Regions from separate parts of the Homo sapiens genome. Here regions 2 and 3 are each linked to region 1. Evidence: promoter capture Hi-C in 16 types of primary human blood cells and fetal thymus (Javierre and others, 2016). All regions are on one chromosome and are shown on one strand. The core of a region is centred on a gene start or on the middle of the fragment in contact, and the rest is flanking DNA. Distances in the headings are between cores, read along the strand shown. Region 1 holds the start of CYP26A1 (cytochrome P450 family 26 subfamily A member 1). Region 2 has its middle 190 kb from the start of CYP26A1. Region 3 has its middle 160 kb from the start of CYP26A1.

Evidence for each region. The method cuts DNA at HindIII sites, captures the fragments that hold promoters and counts their contacts. A CHiCAGO score of 5 or more calls a contact.
Region 2: a fragment that was not itself captured here is called in contact with the fragment with the promoter of CYP26A1 in region 1 in 3 of 17 cell types (M1 macrophages, M2 macrophages and M0 macrophages); the score reaches 8.2 in M1 macrophages.
Region 3: a fragment that was not itself captured here is called in contact with the fragment with the promoter of CYP26A1 in region 1 in 1 of 17 cell types (M2 macrophages); the score reaches 7.0 in M2 macrophages.

What each region holds. Positions count from the first base shown.
Region 1 is chr10:93,071,878-93,077,049 of GRCh38, reverse strand. CYP26A1 (cytochrome P450 family 26 subfamily A member 1) reads right to left here and starts at 3,157. Exons shown (of 7, transcript NM_000783.4): 1 at 2,927-3,157; 2 at 2,518-2,742; 3 at 1,981-2,271; 4 at 1,743-1,901; 5 at 1,090-1,224; 6 at 354-506; 7 at 1-87. The coding sequence starts at 3,115. The HindIII fragment of the contact is 6,992 bases long and covers 1-5,172 here.
Region 2 is chr10:93,263,106-93,268,277 of GRCh38, reverse strand. No RefSeq gene overlaps it. Among named protein-coding and RNA genes, the nearest start is that of CYP26A1, 190 kb to the right of the region's middle. RefSeq lists a silencer at 666-715. The HindIII fragment of the contact is 2,839 bases long and covers 1,778-4,616 here.
Region 3 is chr10:93,231,289-93,236,460 of GRCh38, reverse strand. No RefSeq gene overlaps it. Among named protein-coding and RNA genes, the nearest start is that of CYP26A1, 160 kb to the right of the region's middle. The HindIII fragment of the contact is 2,898 bases long and covers 1,036-3,933 here.

The sequences.
Region 1 (5,172 bases), core at 1,908-4,407:
TTCTTCCTTGTTGGTGAAGATCTCTGCCACATCATGAGTATCACAGATACTGTAGATAACATTCCAGCCCTTGGGAATCTGGTATCCCTGCAAAAGATTATGAAACCCCAAGGGCTGACAAACTGGAATTTAACTTTCAACAACAAAAAGCAGTCACTGATATCTTTGGGGGAAATTATGAGCTAAAAGCAAGGGAGAGGTAGAAAGAGAGAGGTGGATCCAGGTTGCTGAAACATATCTCCATATAGGGCAGAACAATTATCAAAAGCATAAGAATTGCAGCCACAGCATAGGGAAGAAAGAGGAGTTTTTAAACCACAACAAAAGGGAGAAAGAAGAGAATTTTAACTTACATTTAATTCAAAAGTCTTCAGAGCAACCCGAAACCCTCCTGGAACTGGGGGATTCAGTCGAAGGGTCTCCTTAATAACACACCCGATGTATTTAAGTTGTTCCAAAATTTCCATGTCCAACTTGTTGTCTTGATTGCTCTTGCAAAGTAAACCCTATCAAAACAGTCATACAGAGGTGAACAGTTATTTTGTGCTCCAATAAAATCAGCCCAGCAGACGTAAACAGGGCTTAAGTGGAGACTAAACCCAAAGGGCCCCATGATGGGAGAGACTGGGAGGGGGAAACAGCAGCTAATGGCCATTTGCCTGCCCAAATCCACTATCTATTTACAATCCCAGGAGAATGCTGCTCACCAGTTAGAAGGACCAAGTTTCTCCCCACGCCCCCCCACCCCACACTCACCACCACCACCCACACTAATCAGCTATTCACACTATGTATGCCCTTGGACACACCAATTCAAGAAAGTGGAACCTATCTGAGAATCTCCACGGTTCAGCAAAAGGTGGAGGAGGGGTAGGAATACAAGGTCAAACCCTGCCCAAGTGGGCTCACAGCTCAAGACTCCATCCTGTTTATTCACAAAGCTAATTCTGCCCACTGGCCCACGCAGCCCTGGGCCCTGCACTTTCAAAATACTCCATGAAGGCAGCACACTGACTTATTCGGAAGTTGGCTAGGGAGCAGCTGAATTTCCTAAGCTAATAAGGACACCCCCAGACCCAGTCTCCCTACCTTACTCTTCAGCTCTTCTCGCACTTTCTGGAGAACATGTGGGTAGAGCCCCAGGTAAGTGATCAGAGATGTGGCTGCACTGGCCGTGGTTTCGTGTCCTCCAAAGAGGAGTTCGGTTGAAGATTGCTTTAGTGCCTAAGAATAGAGTGAGACCCACATTCTCACAAGTCTGCCTGCGGTTTGACAGAAGGATTACTCAGAATCGAACTGAGAGTTCTGGAGGGAAGACTAGAAGGGCTAAATGTTTTGCTGACAGAAAGTCAAGGAAAGCAATATCTTTAAACAAAATGCAACGTCCCTTTAGTTCAGCTGGAGCAGTAAGGCGAGTACGACCCCGCTCTACCGGAAACTCCTGAGTTAAAGTCTTAGTTTTATTAAAATCGCAAGGTTCTTTATTAACATTTTTGCAAATTCCAACTTTCCCTTTGAAACCTGGAAAGGCTAGGGGATGCTCCCAGTTCCGCCGCAGCCCCTTCCGCAGCTCTCCTGACCGGGTGTCTCAGCCTTCCTTCGGGATTCCATAGCTGTAGTCTGAGCCGGCCGCCCACTCCAGAAAGCTGGGCCCCAGGCGCGCGCTTTGGGGGCCCCAGGAACAGCGCTTGGAAAGCCAGGGGACCAAACTCCGCAGTGCCTGGTCTGAAGCTGCTACTCACCTGCATGTCCAGCCGCTCTCCCCTCTCCCACGAGTGCTCGATCAACAGCTGCAGCGCGTCTTTGCAGCCCTGGCCCGCCTCGGATGCCCGCAGCCCGCAGATCTTGGCGCGAATGTTCTGCTCGATGCGCGCGTGAATGAGGTTCCGCGCCTTCATGCCCTGAGCGCAGAGAGCGCGCGGCGGTGAGCAGACGCCCAGGTCCCGCGCCCCTAGTCCGCAGCCCGTTTGCCGCCCTTACCCGGTACAGCCCGCTGAAGGGCACGTCGATGGGCAGCGAGAAGAGATTGCGGGTCATTTCCTCGAAGGCCTCCACAAGCTGCTGCTCGGAGTCCCCGTCGCCCGCCAGTTGGGGTTCGCAGCCCAGTAGGATGCGCATGGCGATTCGGAACATGAGGCGCTTCACCTCGGGGTAGACCAGGAGGCCGCGCTCGCCGCAGCTCAGCCACTGCTCCAGGCTGCTGCCCACTTCCTCGGTGATCACCGGCACGTAGCATTCGAGTGCCTCGCGGCTGAAGGCCCGCATAATCACCTGAGTCCCGAGGAGGGGACAGCGTTAAAAGCCTCCATCCGCCCCTCTCGTCTACCGCCGTCCCCTTCCAGACACCCCCAGTCCTGCCAGACACATGGCACTCTCCGAGCTGGGAAAGCTAACCTGGAGCTGGCAGAGGGTCCTAGCCCACCTCAAGCTGCTAGCCCGCGCCTAGCATCCATCAGCCGGAATTCCGCTCATAAATGGGGTCCCCCTCCCTGTCCAGCCGTCGCCTCCTGCCCCCACCTTCTTGCGCTGCTTGTGCGAGGAGTCGTGCAGGTTAGAGAGGCAGCCAGATCCCAGAATGGTGCGCACCGACGCTGGCCAGTGGACCGACACCAGCCGGTGCTCTCCGAGCAAGATGCGCCGCACATTGTCCGCGCCCATCACCCGTACGGTGGGCCGCCCGAACAGATGCGTCTTGTAGATGAAGCCGTATTTCCTGCGCTTCATCTGCAGGAACTTCCTCCGCTGTGGGAGGAAGGCGGAGGAGAGAAGTGGGCATGAGGGGGCGCCGGGGAGCGCCGCGCTCCCGCCAGCCCTGCTCCTAGCCGCAATAGCATGCCTCCCGGGGGCGCCTACCCCGACTTCAGCAGAAGCCCAGAGCCGCGCCGGGCTCCGGGGAAGCAGCCTGTCCCGCCCCACCCTCCCTTACCTGCAGTACCATCTGCAAGGTTTCCCCAAAGAAGGGGAAGCCCATAGTCCCGGGGGGCAATGGGAGGGCACAACTGCGGTCGCGGCCGCTCACGCAGTACAGGTCCCAGAGCTTGATCGCAGCCAGGAAGAGCAGCAGCGGCAGCACGAAGGTGCAGAGCGCACTGGCCAGCAGCGCCGGGAGCCCCATGGCGCGCCGCGACCTCCCGCGCCACCTGCCGCCGCCGCCAGCGCTTCAAACCCCACGGCGCTGCCGCTTTATAGGCGGCCCAGGTTGCTGCCCACGTTACCTTGGTCAGACAATTAGTTCACCCAAAGTTCATCTTTAATTGCGGATTGGGCCCCTGGCTCCTCCCCCCGCGAGGCGCTGCCCAAAATCTTTAACCGTTTGTTCCGCGCCGAGGCAGAGGCGGCGCGGTGGCGGCTTCCCTCCGAGCGCGCCTCCTGGGGTGCGGGGCTAGGAGCTGCCCGCCTCCCCCATCCAAGGTGTGCTGAGCTCCGAGGCGGCGGTGGGGGAGGGCCAGGACTCCGAGGAGCCGGAATTCCAAGCTCTAGCCTTCCCGGCGGTCTCTTTGGAATCCCTCCCGCCCGGTCCCACCCGCTGCCCCGGCCCAAAGCAGCCTTCACTGGCTTTCCATTTCCAGGTGCCGGGTGGGCTCTCTTCCACGTGATGAGGAAGCAAGGGAAAGTCCTTTCAGGAATCGTCCAGCTGCCTCCTCCCACGTGTGGGGAAACTGAGGTCCAAGAGAGATGCATAAAGCAGGCCTCCAGACGTCTCCGAAGGATCGCGCAGAAGAACTCAGGGCCAGAGTCCAAGAGAGAGCCTCGGGGCATCGGGCGCAATAGGCAGATCTGGGATCCCCAGCTCCCCAACCCCTGCAAGGGGGCCAGGACTCATGAAGTCTTAGAAGGTCCTACTTCAGGATACAAGAAGGCCTCCAGGTCCCTCAGGTCCCCAGGTGCTACCCTGCACAAGCCTGATCCCCGACCCTGGGGCACTTCGTCTGGGGCTCGGCAGTCGGTGCCCGTCTCTGAGATCCAAGCACAGCTCGCCTATTCGGAGGGCCCTGCTGCTTGGCGCCCCAGCTGGACAGCAGGGAAGGGGGTCCTTAGCCCTGGCAGGATAAAGAGACGGTATAAGAGGAAGGGGAGCCCAGGAGTCCTGGCTCCGAGGCCCGGCTCCATCTGTACTGCGTGTGACCTTGGGCAAGTCACCACACATCACTGTGCCTGTTTCCTCCTCCTTAACCGGGAGGCGATCATTCCCGACCTGTCTAAGCCTCAGGGTAGTGAGTTCCCAAAAGGGGGCTCCGGTTGCAACTACTCTTCCCAGCTCCAGGCACGGTAGACTGCGTTACCTGGGTGTCCGGTACACCGGGCACTGGAGTCCTCCTCCTCTCTCCCAAGTCCCACCCAGAGTAAAGCCACTGTCCTCATCCAGGTGAGGGGGTGCTCGGCCCTAAACTCAGGGCTCTACCGACCCCTAATGGGAGGGGTGAAGGGATCCGTACTGGGAAGTCTTCTGTACTTTGCCCATCTACAATCAGCTGCTACTGAGCTGCCAATGCCCGGAGCTCAGACGCTGCGGGACGCGCACCTGCTCTCTCTGCTCTCCACCTGCCGGAGCTTCCCGGCTCGGGACCAGTCAGGGTCACACGCTACCTGGGTTTGGGCGCTGAACGCACCTGCGGCGCCGAAAATGAAACAGAATGACCTGCATTTGTTTAAAACTGAACACTGTCTCTGGCAGAAGCACGCCGCACGCCTTGGAAGGCGTCCCTTGGAGGTGGAAAACTCTGCTCCTGAGAGTTTAAATGCGTTGCCCTTCTCGCGGTAGTCCCCAAACCCGGAGGTATCAGGAAATATCTGCAGAGGTCGGAGGGACCCGCACAATCCTAGCGACTCTCCAAGCCAGAGTCGCCGCCACAGGGAGTGTTTCGGGGGGTCAGCGTTTCCCCATAACCTGCCCAGTGTTTCAGAGGCTCTGGGCAGGGTTTCAGTCTCCGGCAAACGATTTGGTGGCTGTAAACACGGCGAACCAACCTCTGGCCACTGCAGGAAGCCAGGCCAATCGCGCTGGAGGTAATTCTCAGAAATCCCGGGTCCGCCCCTTTCTGGACAGCGCCTCCGGCCGGTGTGCAAAGCCGACGAATGGGGACGTGACCTGGGGCCCATTCCCAATCCTCGGGCCTGACCCGCCTGTGACCCCTGCAGGCCGGACCGTGACATCCGAGTGAACTCTGCGGG
Region 2 (5,172 bases), core at 1,948-4,447, 190 kb before region 1:
CCAGGAGAGATGGTGGGAGGAGGAACAGACCTCATTAACAGGAGCTGTTGGCTTCAGACCTACTGGGGCCAAAAGCCCCTAGAGAAATGTTGCACCTACTTGCAGAAATCTTTACAGCAGGAAGCCAGAGAGACAGACCACTGAGGCGGGGTCCTAGAAATGCCTGCAATAGCCTGAAAGTTGACATGTTTGAACCCTTCCCTGGAAGGCAGGAGATAGGGGACAGTAAACATCATTTTCAAAGCTTTCCTGGCCTCTCTATAAGGTTGGTGGCTGCTGGAATATAAAGAATGAAAGATAAAATGGGCCAGGCATTTTTTTCACTGAAGAAATCTGATAGGGATATAAGAGAAAGGTACTCTTCCTAGAGCTGCAAGAAGCTCTTGAATCCCACGAAAGGGTGTCTGATGCCAAATACAGACAGAACTGGTTCACATGTCAGTGCTTCATTGACTGGCTGGGTGACCTTGGGCAAATTGTTTCAGTTCTTTGAGTTTCAGTTTCTCCATTAGCAAAATGAGGATAATAACCATAACACCCACGTTGTGGTGAAGGTTTAGAGAGAACGAAATGACCTAAAATCCATTCAGTGTATGACAGCTAATAGTGCTACCTGTCATTTTATAGAAAGAGGAACTGAAATCCAGACAGTCAATATAAGGTGCCCAAGGCCATCCAGGAAGGACTGGCTGATGAGCAGTCAGGAGATAATGTGGATTTTCTTGTTTTAATTTCTCAGGGATTCAGTTTCCTCATCTATAAAATGGGAATAATATATATTCTCGATACCTTATCTGAAACACTTGGAGCCAGGTTTTCAAATTCTAGAAGGAACAGTCTGAATACCATACCTCTAGCAGGGTTTAGGGCAGTACCCAGTAATCAAACACATTACCATTTCTGCAGCAAAATGTCAGAGTATTTATATTAGGCGGGAAAAATAAAGACTATATATAGCTTCATGTTGGTTCAGGTTAGATTTCGCTACAAGAAGAATTTGGGTTTTTAGAGCTTTGGAATTTCAGATTGTGGACCTGTGATACCTACTTCAAGTTGTTTGGAGGATTCTACACCAAGTGACCAGTATGGCGGGGAGTGGGACTCATGTTAAAGTTTACTATTATTATCAGCTAGTCTAGTGATTTGACACAGGGCTAAAAGCTGCTAAGTCACCAAGACTATCTAGGCAGGATGCTACATCTCAGAAAGCCTCAAGAGGATGTCTACTGTATGTACTTTGAGTATACCACGCCCTTCCTGCAGGGCTGGGGAAGAGATGAGAAGGGACAATTTTCTGTGAAGACGTCCCATACTATCAGGCTGAACCATGAGCACTTGAAGCGCTCCCCTAAAGTACCACTGGGGTCCTATTGGGCAGGTCCTGGTTCTGGAGCCTCTGGAAACTGGGCTGAAGGTCATTTCAATTGGGGAACAAGAAGATGATGCTCTAAACCAGGGGTTGGCGCCTCAGAGACCTGGAAAGTAATATAAAGGAACAAAGGGGCCCAGATGTGGCCTATGGCAAGTGGAAAAACACCTGCCCATCCCAAAGGGCAGATGACACCAACTTAAAGTTGTTGGTTGCCATATAATAATTTAAGCCTTGTACTGACTAATATTTTGATTTTTAAAGAGACGTTAACATCTGAAATACGTGAAATGTCCTGACTTTTACCTATTGGCTACTCATATTTTTAAATGCTGTGCAAACCCAACAAAACACATCTGTAGACCTCCGATCTAAATAATTGTAGTGAGTGTAATTTAATTGAAAGCTTACTACGTGTCCGGCAGTGCCCTACAAGTGCTACATGTGTTACATTTAGTGGTACAACAACCCTATGAAGGAGGAACTGTTATTGGTGTTTTACAAAGCAGGAAAACTGAAACTCAGATGACATTAGATATAAAATGGTTACTGTCCTACAGGTCAGTAAAACTGATCTTTGCACTCTCATTTCTACAAATAGAAATAATTTACATCTCTACTAGAAACATCCACAAGCAACTTGTCGATCTTCTACAAGTGAATGCCCAACGTTACAGAGTCTGAACGTTAAGCAATAATGTCTTAGCTCAGGCTGCCGCAACAAAGTACCAAGACTAGGTGGTTTAAAATATATAAATTAACTTGTTCACAGTTGTAGAGGCTTGACATCCAAGATCCAGGTTCTGGCTGGTTTGGCTTCTGGTGAGAGCCCTCTTTGTGGCTTGCAGAGGGCCACCTTCTCACAGTGTCCTCACCTGGCCTTTCTTCAGTGTGTTCAAGCTGGTGTCTCTTATAAGGACACTAATCCTATCACATCAGAGTCTCACTCTTATGACCTCATCTAATCTTAATTGCTTTCTTAGACACCCCATCTCTAAATACAGCCACACTGGGGGTTAAGGCTTCAATATACAAATTTGAGGAGGGACACAAACATTCAGTTCATATAAATAGTAAAGAGTAAGTGAAGCAAAATAATAATTCCAAGAGCACAAGATGATCTCTAAGTGAGCTTCTTGGACAGTTCTCTAGTATGTCATTGAAACAAGGACACACAACAATGTCTTTGCTTTATTTCCAAATTTTGGATAATTTTTCTGAATAAGTACTTGGAAAGCAAATTTTATTAAGCTATCACTTGACAACTCAGGAAAGCTGAAAGCCTGTCTTGTTCACATGAAAATAAGCTCAGCAGTGACAATTGTCAAAGAAACACCAGCAAAACTTTTCCACTGATTTTCCTTTAAAAAATATTTTTCATATCAGTGATAAAACATTTTTGCCGTTATAGGCCAGGCACGGTGGCTCACGGCTATAATCCCAGGACTTTGGGAGGCTGAGGCAGGTGGATCACGAGGTCAGGAGATGAAGACCATCCTGGCTAACATGATTAAATGCCATCTCTACTAAAAATACAAAAAATTAGCTGGGCGTGGTGGCATGCACCTGTAGTCCCAGCTACTCAGGAGGCTAAGGCAGGAGAATCGCTTGAACTCGGGAGGCTAAGGCAGGTGGAGGTTGCAGTGAGCCAAGATAGTGCCGCTGCACTCCAGCCTGGGCGACAGAGTGAGACTCCATATCAAAAAAAAAAATTGTCACTATAATAGGACGACAAATGATTTTCAGTTTCAGGGGACTGAAGAATCTAGTCTTCCCCTAAGATCCCAGGATAGGTTCACAAAGTGTGACTATCTGAAATTGAAGGAAGGAGAGTGACAAACGTAGATGAGATAGGCTGGGCGCGGTGGCTCATGCCTGTAATCCCAGCACTTTGGGAGGCTGAGGCAGGCAGATCATGAGGTCAGGAGATCGAGACCATCCTGGTTAACACGGTGAAACCCTGTCTCTACTAAAAATATAAAAAATTAGCTGGGCATGGTGGCAGGTGCCTGTAGTCCCAGCTACTCGGGAGGCTGAGGCAGGAGAATGGCGGGGAGGCGGAGCTTGCAGTGAGTGAGGCAAGATCAGGCCACTGCACTCCAGCCTGGGCAACAGAATGAAACTCCGTCTCAAAAAAAAAAAAATGTAGATGAGATAATCTATCCCTCCCTCACCCCGTCAAGACTGTGAGCTCAATAAGGACAGGAACTGTCCTCACTGATTTCCAATCAGTGAGCCATTTCCATATTCACTAACTGAACTCCTACATGGTGGAAGCTCAATAAATGTTTGATAGAGGGATGGAAGAAGGGAGGGATAGATGAAGGGAGAGATGGATAAATGGATGGATGAATGGATGGTAATTAATTGAATGAGTGCTTAGGGTGGCTCTTGACTCAGTTTTCCTCTGCTATAAGGACACAGTAGGAACATTTTCTGGGTTTGCCAAGCATAGCTTGGACAGTTTGGGGAATTTGGATTCAGTTATTGTCCTCATAATTTTCATGAATTTAGCTTCTCTTTCAGTGGTTACATTTTCATTGGTGTTCCCTTTTTATAACTTTTTTTTTTTTTTTTAGAGGCATCATCTTGCTATATTGCCCAGTCTGGACTCAAACTCCTGGGCTAAAGAGATCCTCCCATCTCAGCCTCCCAAGTAGCTGGGACTACAGGCATGTGCCACTGCACCCAGCGATGCTTCCATTTTAGGCTCACTGTAGGCCTCTTGCTAAGATTTGCGCAGTCCCCTAGCATTTCTTAAGAACATATCACTGTGTCAGGCATTGTGCTATGGCCTCTTAAATATGTGATTCTATTTAATCCTCCCAATAACTCTGTGAGGTAGATGCTATTGATCCCATTTTAAAGACATGAAAATTGGTACCCACAGCTAGTAAATGGAGATCAGACTCAGGGGCTGGGTGCGGTGGCTCATGCCTGTAATCCCAGCACTTTGGGAGGCCTAGGTTGGCAGATCACTTGTGGCCAGGAGTTCAAGACCATCCTGGCCAACATAGTGAAACCCCATCTCTACTAAAAATACAAAAATTAGTTGAGCATGGTGGCATGCACTTGTAATCCCAGCTACTCGGGAGGCTGAGAGAGGAGAATCGCTCTTGAACCTGGGAGGTGGAAGTTGCAGTGAGCCAAGATTGAGCCACTGCACTCCAGCCTGGGTGACAGAGTGAGATTCTGTCTCAAAAAAAAAAAGGAAGAAAGAAAAAGAAAAAGAAATCAGACTCAAGCTTTCTTACTCTAAGTCTGATGTACTTTCTATTACTTAGCAGTTTGGGTGCTACAAATATTTCCTGAGAAGACTGCAACAGTTTTATAATTTGCATGAATTTATATTTATAAAATTATAATTATAAAATTAATAATTAACTATTATTAATTAAATGAATATTTGCTAAGCATTGAATATCATATTGCCAGGCCCTAGGGATAAAACAATGAACATGATTAACAGAGTTCCTGTCCTTATTGAGCTTACAGTCTTGATGGGTGAGGGAGGAATAGATTGTCTCATCTACTTTTGTCACTCTCCTTCCTTCAATTTCAGATAGTCACATTTTATGAACCTATCCTGGGATCTTAGGGGAATACTGTAGATTCTTCAGTCCCCTGAAACTGAAATATGGGCAATTTTGCCAAGGAAGAAAAAGGGCAGGGTCATGACCAGAGCCCCTTAGACAACTGAGGATGCAATTTCCTAGTGGCATTGGTGTCAAGTGCCTCTAGTGCTGGACTAGGCCAGGATCCTCTATGCAAGAGAAAGGGACCTCCCAGGATATTTCCTTCCT
Region 3 (5,172 bases), core at 1,235-3,734, 160 kb before region 1:
GCACTCAGAAGCAGTTAAGTATTACTTACCTTGCAGCCTTTGAATCTTAGCAGAAGAGGTTTACCATTATATGACTAGATTGAGCAAGGAAAAGTTTCCTCCTGTTTCTTAAGTGTGTCTATATTTTAATTCTCTATTTTTAAGTGGAGATACACCTAGAGTAGGAAAGTTGCTTAAAGGTCACCTGTCCTGTGGTTTCAATACCCATTTCCAAATTAGAGGTACCTGGGCATTTTCCTAAAAATATGGATTCCAGGGCCCACTTCAGATTGACTAGGTCAGAAACTGAGGGTGTTGGACCCAGCAATCTGTGGTTTAACCAGCCCTGCAAGTGATTCTGATGAGCGGCTGGGTTTAGGATACACTGCCATGGACCTCCTTTTAGAATTATGGAAACATTTCTGTGGGAAGCAGCACTCTGTGTAATGAAGATTTGATTTCTAGAAACTCACTTTAGAGGAAGCACTTGGGATAGCATGAGAAATCCACATTCCAGGACACGTCATGAGGCTCGGTCACTCAAGGTCAGTTTCCTCACCCCACCAGGTCCCAAGAGGATGAGAGGAGTCAACCAGAGGCAACTGGTACTCGGACTCTGAACTCTTGGAAGCTCAGATCCTTTATCTGTTCCCAGGAAGTGTGCCTGTCAGAGTCTATTGACACTGACCAAGCTGTGAACCTGGGCTCAAATGGATTGTGTTGAACCATCTCTGTGATGGTTAATATTGAGTGTCAACTTGATTGGATTGAAGGGTGCAAGGTATTAATCTTGGGTGTGTCTGTGAGGGTATTGCCAAAGGACATTAACATTTGAGTCAGTGGGCTGGGGAAAAGAGACCCACCCTTAATCTGGTGGGCACAATCTAATCAGCTGCCAGTGAATATAAAGCAGGCAGAAAATCGTGAAAAGGCAAGACTGGCTTAGACTCCCAGCCTACATCTTTCTCCCATGCTGGATGTTTCCTGCCTTCAAACATCGGACTCCAGAGTTCTTCAGTTCTGAGACTCAGACTGGTTCTCCTTGCTCCTCAAGCTTGCAGACGCCTATTGTGGGACATTGTGATCATGTAAGTTAATATTTAATAAACTCATATATATATATACACATACATACATGTGTGTATACATATACACACATATATATATTAGTTCTGTTCCTTTAGGGAACCCTAATACAGATTTTGGTACCAGGAGTGGTTCTAGAGGAACAGAATTCATAATTTTTTTCTTTTTTTTTTTTTGGAGACAGAGTTTTGCTCTTTCACCCAGGCTGGAGTGAAGTGGTGCAATCTCGGCTCACTGCAACCTCTGCCCCCTGGATTCAAGCGATTCTCCTACTTCAGCTTCCCGAGTAGCTGGGATTATAGGTGCCTGCTGCCATGCCTGGCTAATTTTTGTATTTTTAGTAGAGATGAGGTTTCATCATGTTGACCAGGCTGGTCTCGAACTCCTGACCTCAGGTGATCCACCTGCCTTGGCCTCCCAAAGTGCTAGGATTACAGGTGTGAGCCACTGCACTCAGCCAGGAACAGAATATTAAGGATGGAGTTCTTTTGTTGGTTTTGGGGTTTCTGGAGTTGGCTGCTTAATATGATTAGACCCAAAAATGCTAAGGACTCTACTTCTAATAGTATGGAGAACACTGATAGTCCTTGGCATGAACTGTTTAGAGAGTTATGTAAAATAAATGCATTTGACACTCCTGATTCACTGTTCATGAGATGCAAGGAGTTCCTTAACTCTATATATAATACTTTTGACCATATGTGGAGAACCAAGGAACATAATGAAGCTGGTTGGTTGCTCCTAAGTTCACTGGACAAAGTGATGAGAGAAAATGATGAACTCAGGGATTCTGTCTTCTGGCTTCAGAAGCAGATACTGAGCCTCAAATCTTCTAAGATTGCCCTGAGTGAGAGTCTTATCTCCTGTAGAGAAAGAGCTGAAATTGTGGAGAAACAGACACAAGCTCTTATCATGTGAGTGGCTGACCTGCGATGAAAGGTGCATGCACCTCACCGGTGTCTACTGTTAAAGTGAGGGCATTGATTAGAAAAGAATGAGACCCTGTAACCTGGAATGGGGATGTGTGGGAGGACCCTGATGAAGCTGGGAACACTAAGTTTGTAAGCTCTGATGAAACTTTCTTGCCAGAAGGAAGAGCTTCACCATCCCCAGTAGTGGCAACATCCCCTCCCTGACCCATGCTGCCATCAGCCTTTCCACCTTTGTCTGAGAAGACAAAACTCTGCACTGTCTGAGGCAACAGTGATGGCCTCCATGGAGGCAGTTGCCAGGCAAAATAATGTTGATTCTCCTCAGGAGCCACCCTCAACACCTCTGTTTGCTTCCAGACCTATAACTAGACTAAAGTCCTGGCAGGCACCTAGAGGTGAGGTTGAGAGCATGATCCATGAGGAGGTTCACTACTCTTAAAAAGAACTGCTTGAGTTCTCTAATTTATATAAACAGAAATCTGGAGAACAGTCACGGGAATGGATATTAAGGGTATGGGATAATGGTGGAAGGAACATAGAGTTGGATCAGGCTGAATTTATTGATTTGGACCCACTAAGTAGGGACTCTGCATTTAATGTTGCAGCTTGGGGAATTAAAAAAGGTTCTAATCGTTTATTTGCTTGGTTAGCTGAAATATGGATTAAAAGATGGCCCACTGTGAGCAAGCTGGAAATGCCTGATCTTTCTTGGTTTAATGTAGAGGAAGGGATCTAAAGGCTTAGGGAGAGTGGGATGGTGGAGTGGATTAGTCACTTTAGACCTACTCATCCCAGGTAGGAGGGTCCAGAAGATATACCCTTGACCAATGCCTTGTGAAATAGATTTGTGAGGCAAGTACCTACATGTTTGAAGAGCCCTATAATTTCTCTTCTCTGTATGTCAGATCTAACAGTAGGAACCATAGTCACTCAACTACAAAATTTAAATACGATGGGAATAATTTGATCCCGACGTGGCAGGGGCCAAGTGGCAGCAGTCAACCGTCAAAGGCAAGGTGGGTGTAGCTACCATAATGAACAGCAGAGACAAAGCACCAATCAGAATAGTCTGACTCATGTAGAGCTCTGGCATTGGCTAATTAATCATAGTGTTCCTAGAAATGAAGTTGATAGGAAGCCTACTGCATTCATACTTAATTTATACAAGCAGAAAACTTCTAGCTTGAATGGACAAAAGACTAATTTGAATTACAAAAACGGAGAATCATGGTCCCTCAATCAATTTCCAGACTTGAGCCAGTTTATAGACCCAGAACTCCTTGAATGAAGGGGAGGCTGGATCCCCTTGAGGAAGGGCCTCACTACATTACCGACAATTTGTGCAGTGAACCTTTCTCCCATCTTTCCCCAAAGACACCTCTGGCCTTTTACTGGGGTAACTGTGCATTGGGAAAAGGGAAATGATCAGACATTTCAGAGATTATGGAACACTGCCTCTGAGCTGATGTTGACTCCAGGGGACCCAAAACATCACTGTGATCCTCCAATTAAAGTAGGGACTTATGGAGGTCAGGTAATTAATGGAGTTTTAGCTCAGGTCTGACTTACAGTGGGTCCCCACAGTCATCCTGTAGTAATTTCCCCAATGCCAGAATGCATAATTGGCATAGACACACTTAGCAGCTGGCAGAATCCCTACACTGGCTTCCCTAACTGGTAGGGTGATGGCTATTATGGTGGGAGAGGCCAAGTGGAAGCCATTAGAGCTGTCTCTACCTAAAGAAATAGTAAATCAAAAACAATATCACATCCCTGGGGGGATTGTGGAGATTAGTGCCACCATCAGGGACGTGAAAGATGCAGGGGTGGTGATTCCTACCACATCCCCATTCAACTCTCCCATTTGGCCTGCCTCAAACTGACCGAGCTGTGAACCAGATGGATCTTAGAGAATGACAGTGGATTATCACAAGCTTAATCAAGTGGTGACTCCAATTGCAGCTCCTGTACCAGATGTGGTTTCATTTCTTGAGCAAATTAACACATCTCCTGGTACCTGGTATGCAGCCATTGACTTGGCAAATGCCTTTTTCTCCATTCCCGTCCATAAGGCCCACCAGAAGCAATTTGCCTTCAGCTGGCAAGGCCAGCAATATACCTTTACTTTCCTACCTCAGGGGTATATCAACTCTGGCTTTGTGTCATAATCTTATTTGGAGAGACCTTGATCGCTTTTCACTTCTACAAGATATCACACTGGTCCATTACATTGATGACATTATGCTGATTGGATCCAGTGATCAAGAAGTAGCAAACACACTGGACTTATTGGTGAGACATTTCCATGCCAGAGGATGGGAAATAAATATGACTAAAATTCAGGGAACTTCTACCTCAGTGAAATTTCTAGGGGTCCAGTGGTGTGGGGTCTGTCAAAATATCCCTTCTAAAGTGAAGGATAAGTTGCTGTGTTTGGCCCCTCCTACAACCAAGAAAGAGGCAGAACACCTAGTGGGCCTATTTGGATTTTGGAGGCAACACATTCCTCATCTGGGTGTGTTACTCTGACCCATTTATTGAGTGACCCAAAAGGCTGCCAGTTTGAGTGGGGTCCAGAACAGGAGAAGGCTCTGTAACAAGTCCAGGCTGCTGTGCAAGCTGCTCTGCCACTTGGGCTATATGACCCAGCAGATCCAATGGTGCTTGAGGTGTCAGTGGCAGATAGGGATGCTGTTTGGTGCCTTTGGCAGGCCCCCATAGGTGAATCACAGTGCAGGCCTCTAGGATTTTGGAGCAGGGCCTTGCCATCTTCTGTAGATAACTACTCTCCTTTTGAGAGACAGATCTTGGCTTGTTACTGGACTTTGATGGAAACAACGTTTGACTATGGGTCATCAAGTCACCATGTAACCTGAACTGCCTGTCATGAACTGGGTGCTTTCTGACCCATTTAGCCATCAAGTGGGTCATGCACAGCCTTCCACCATCAAATGGAAGTGGTATATACGTGATGAGGCTTGAGCAGGTCCTGAAGGCACAAGTAAGTTACATGAGGAAGTGGCTCAAATGCCCATGGTCTCCACACCTGCCGCCCTGCCTTCTCCTCCCCAGCCTGCACCAATGGCCTCATGGGGAGTTCCCTGTGATCATTTGACAGAGGAAGAGAAGACTAGGGCCTGGGTCACAGGTGGTTCTGCACAATATACAGGCACCA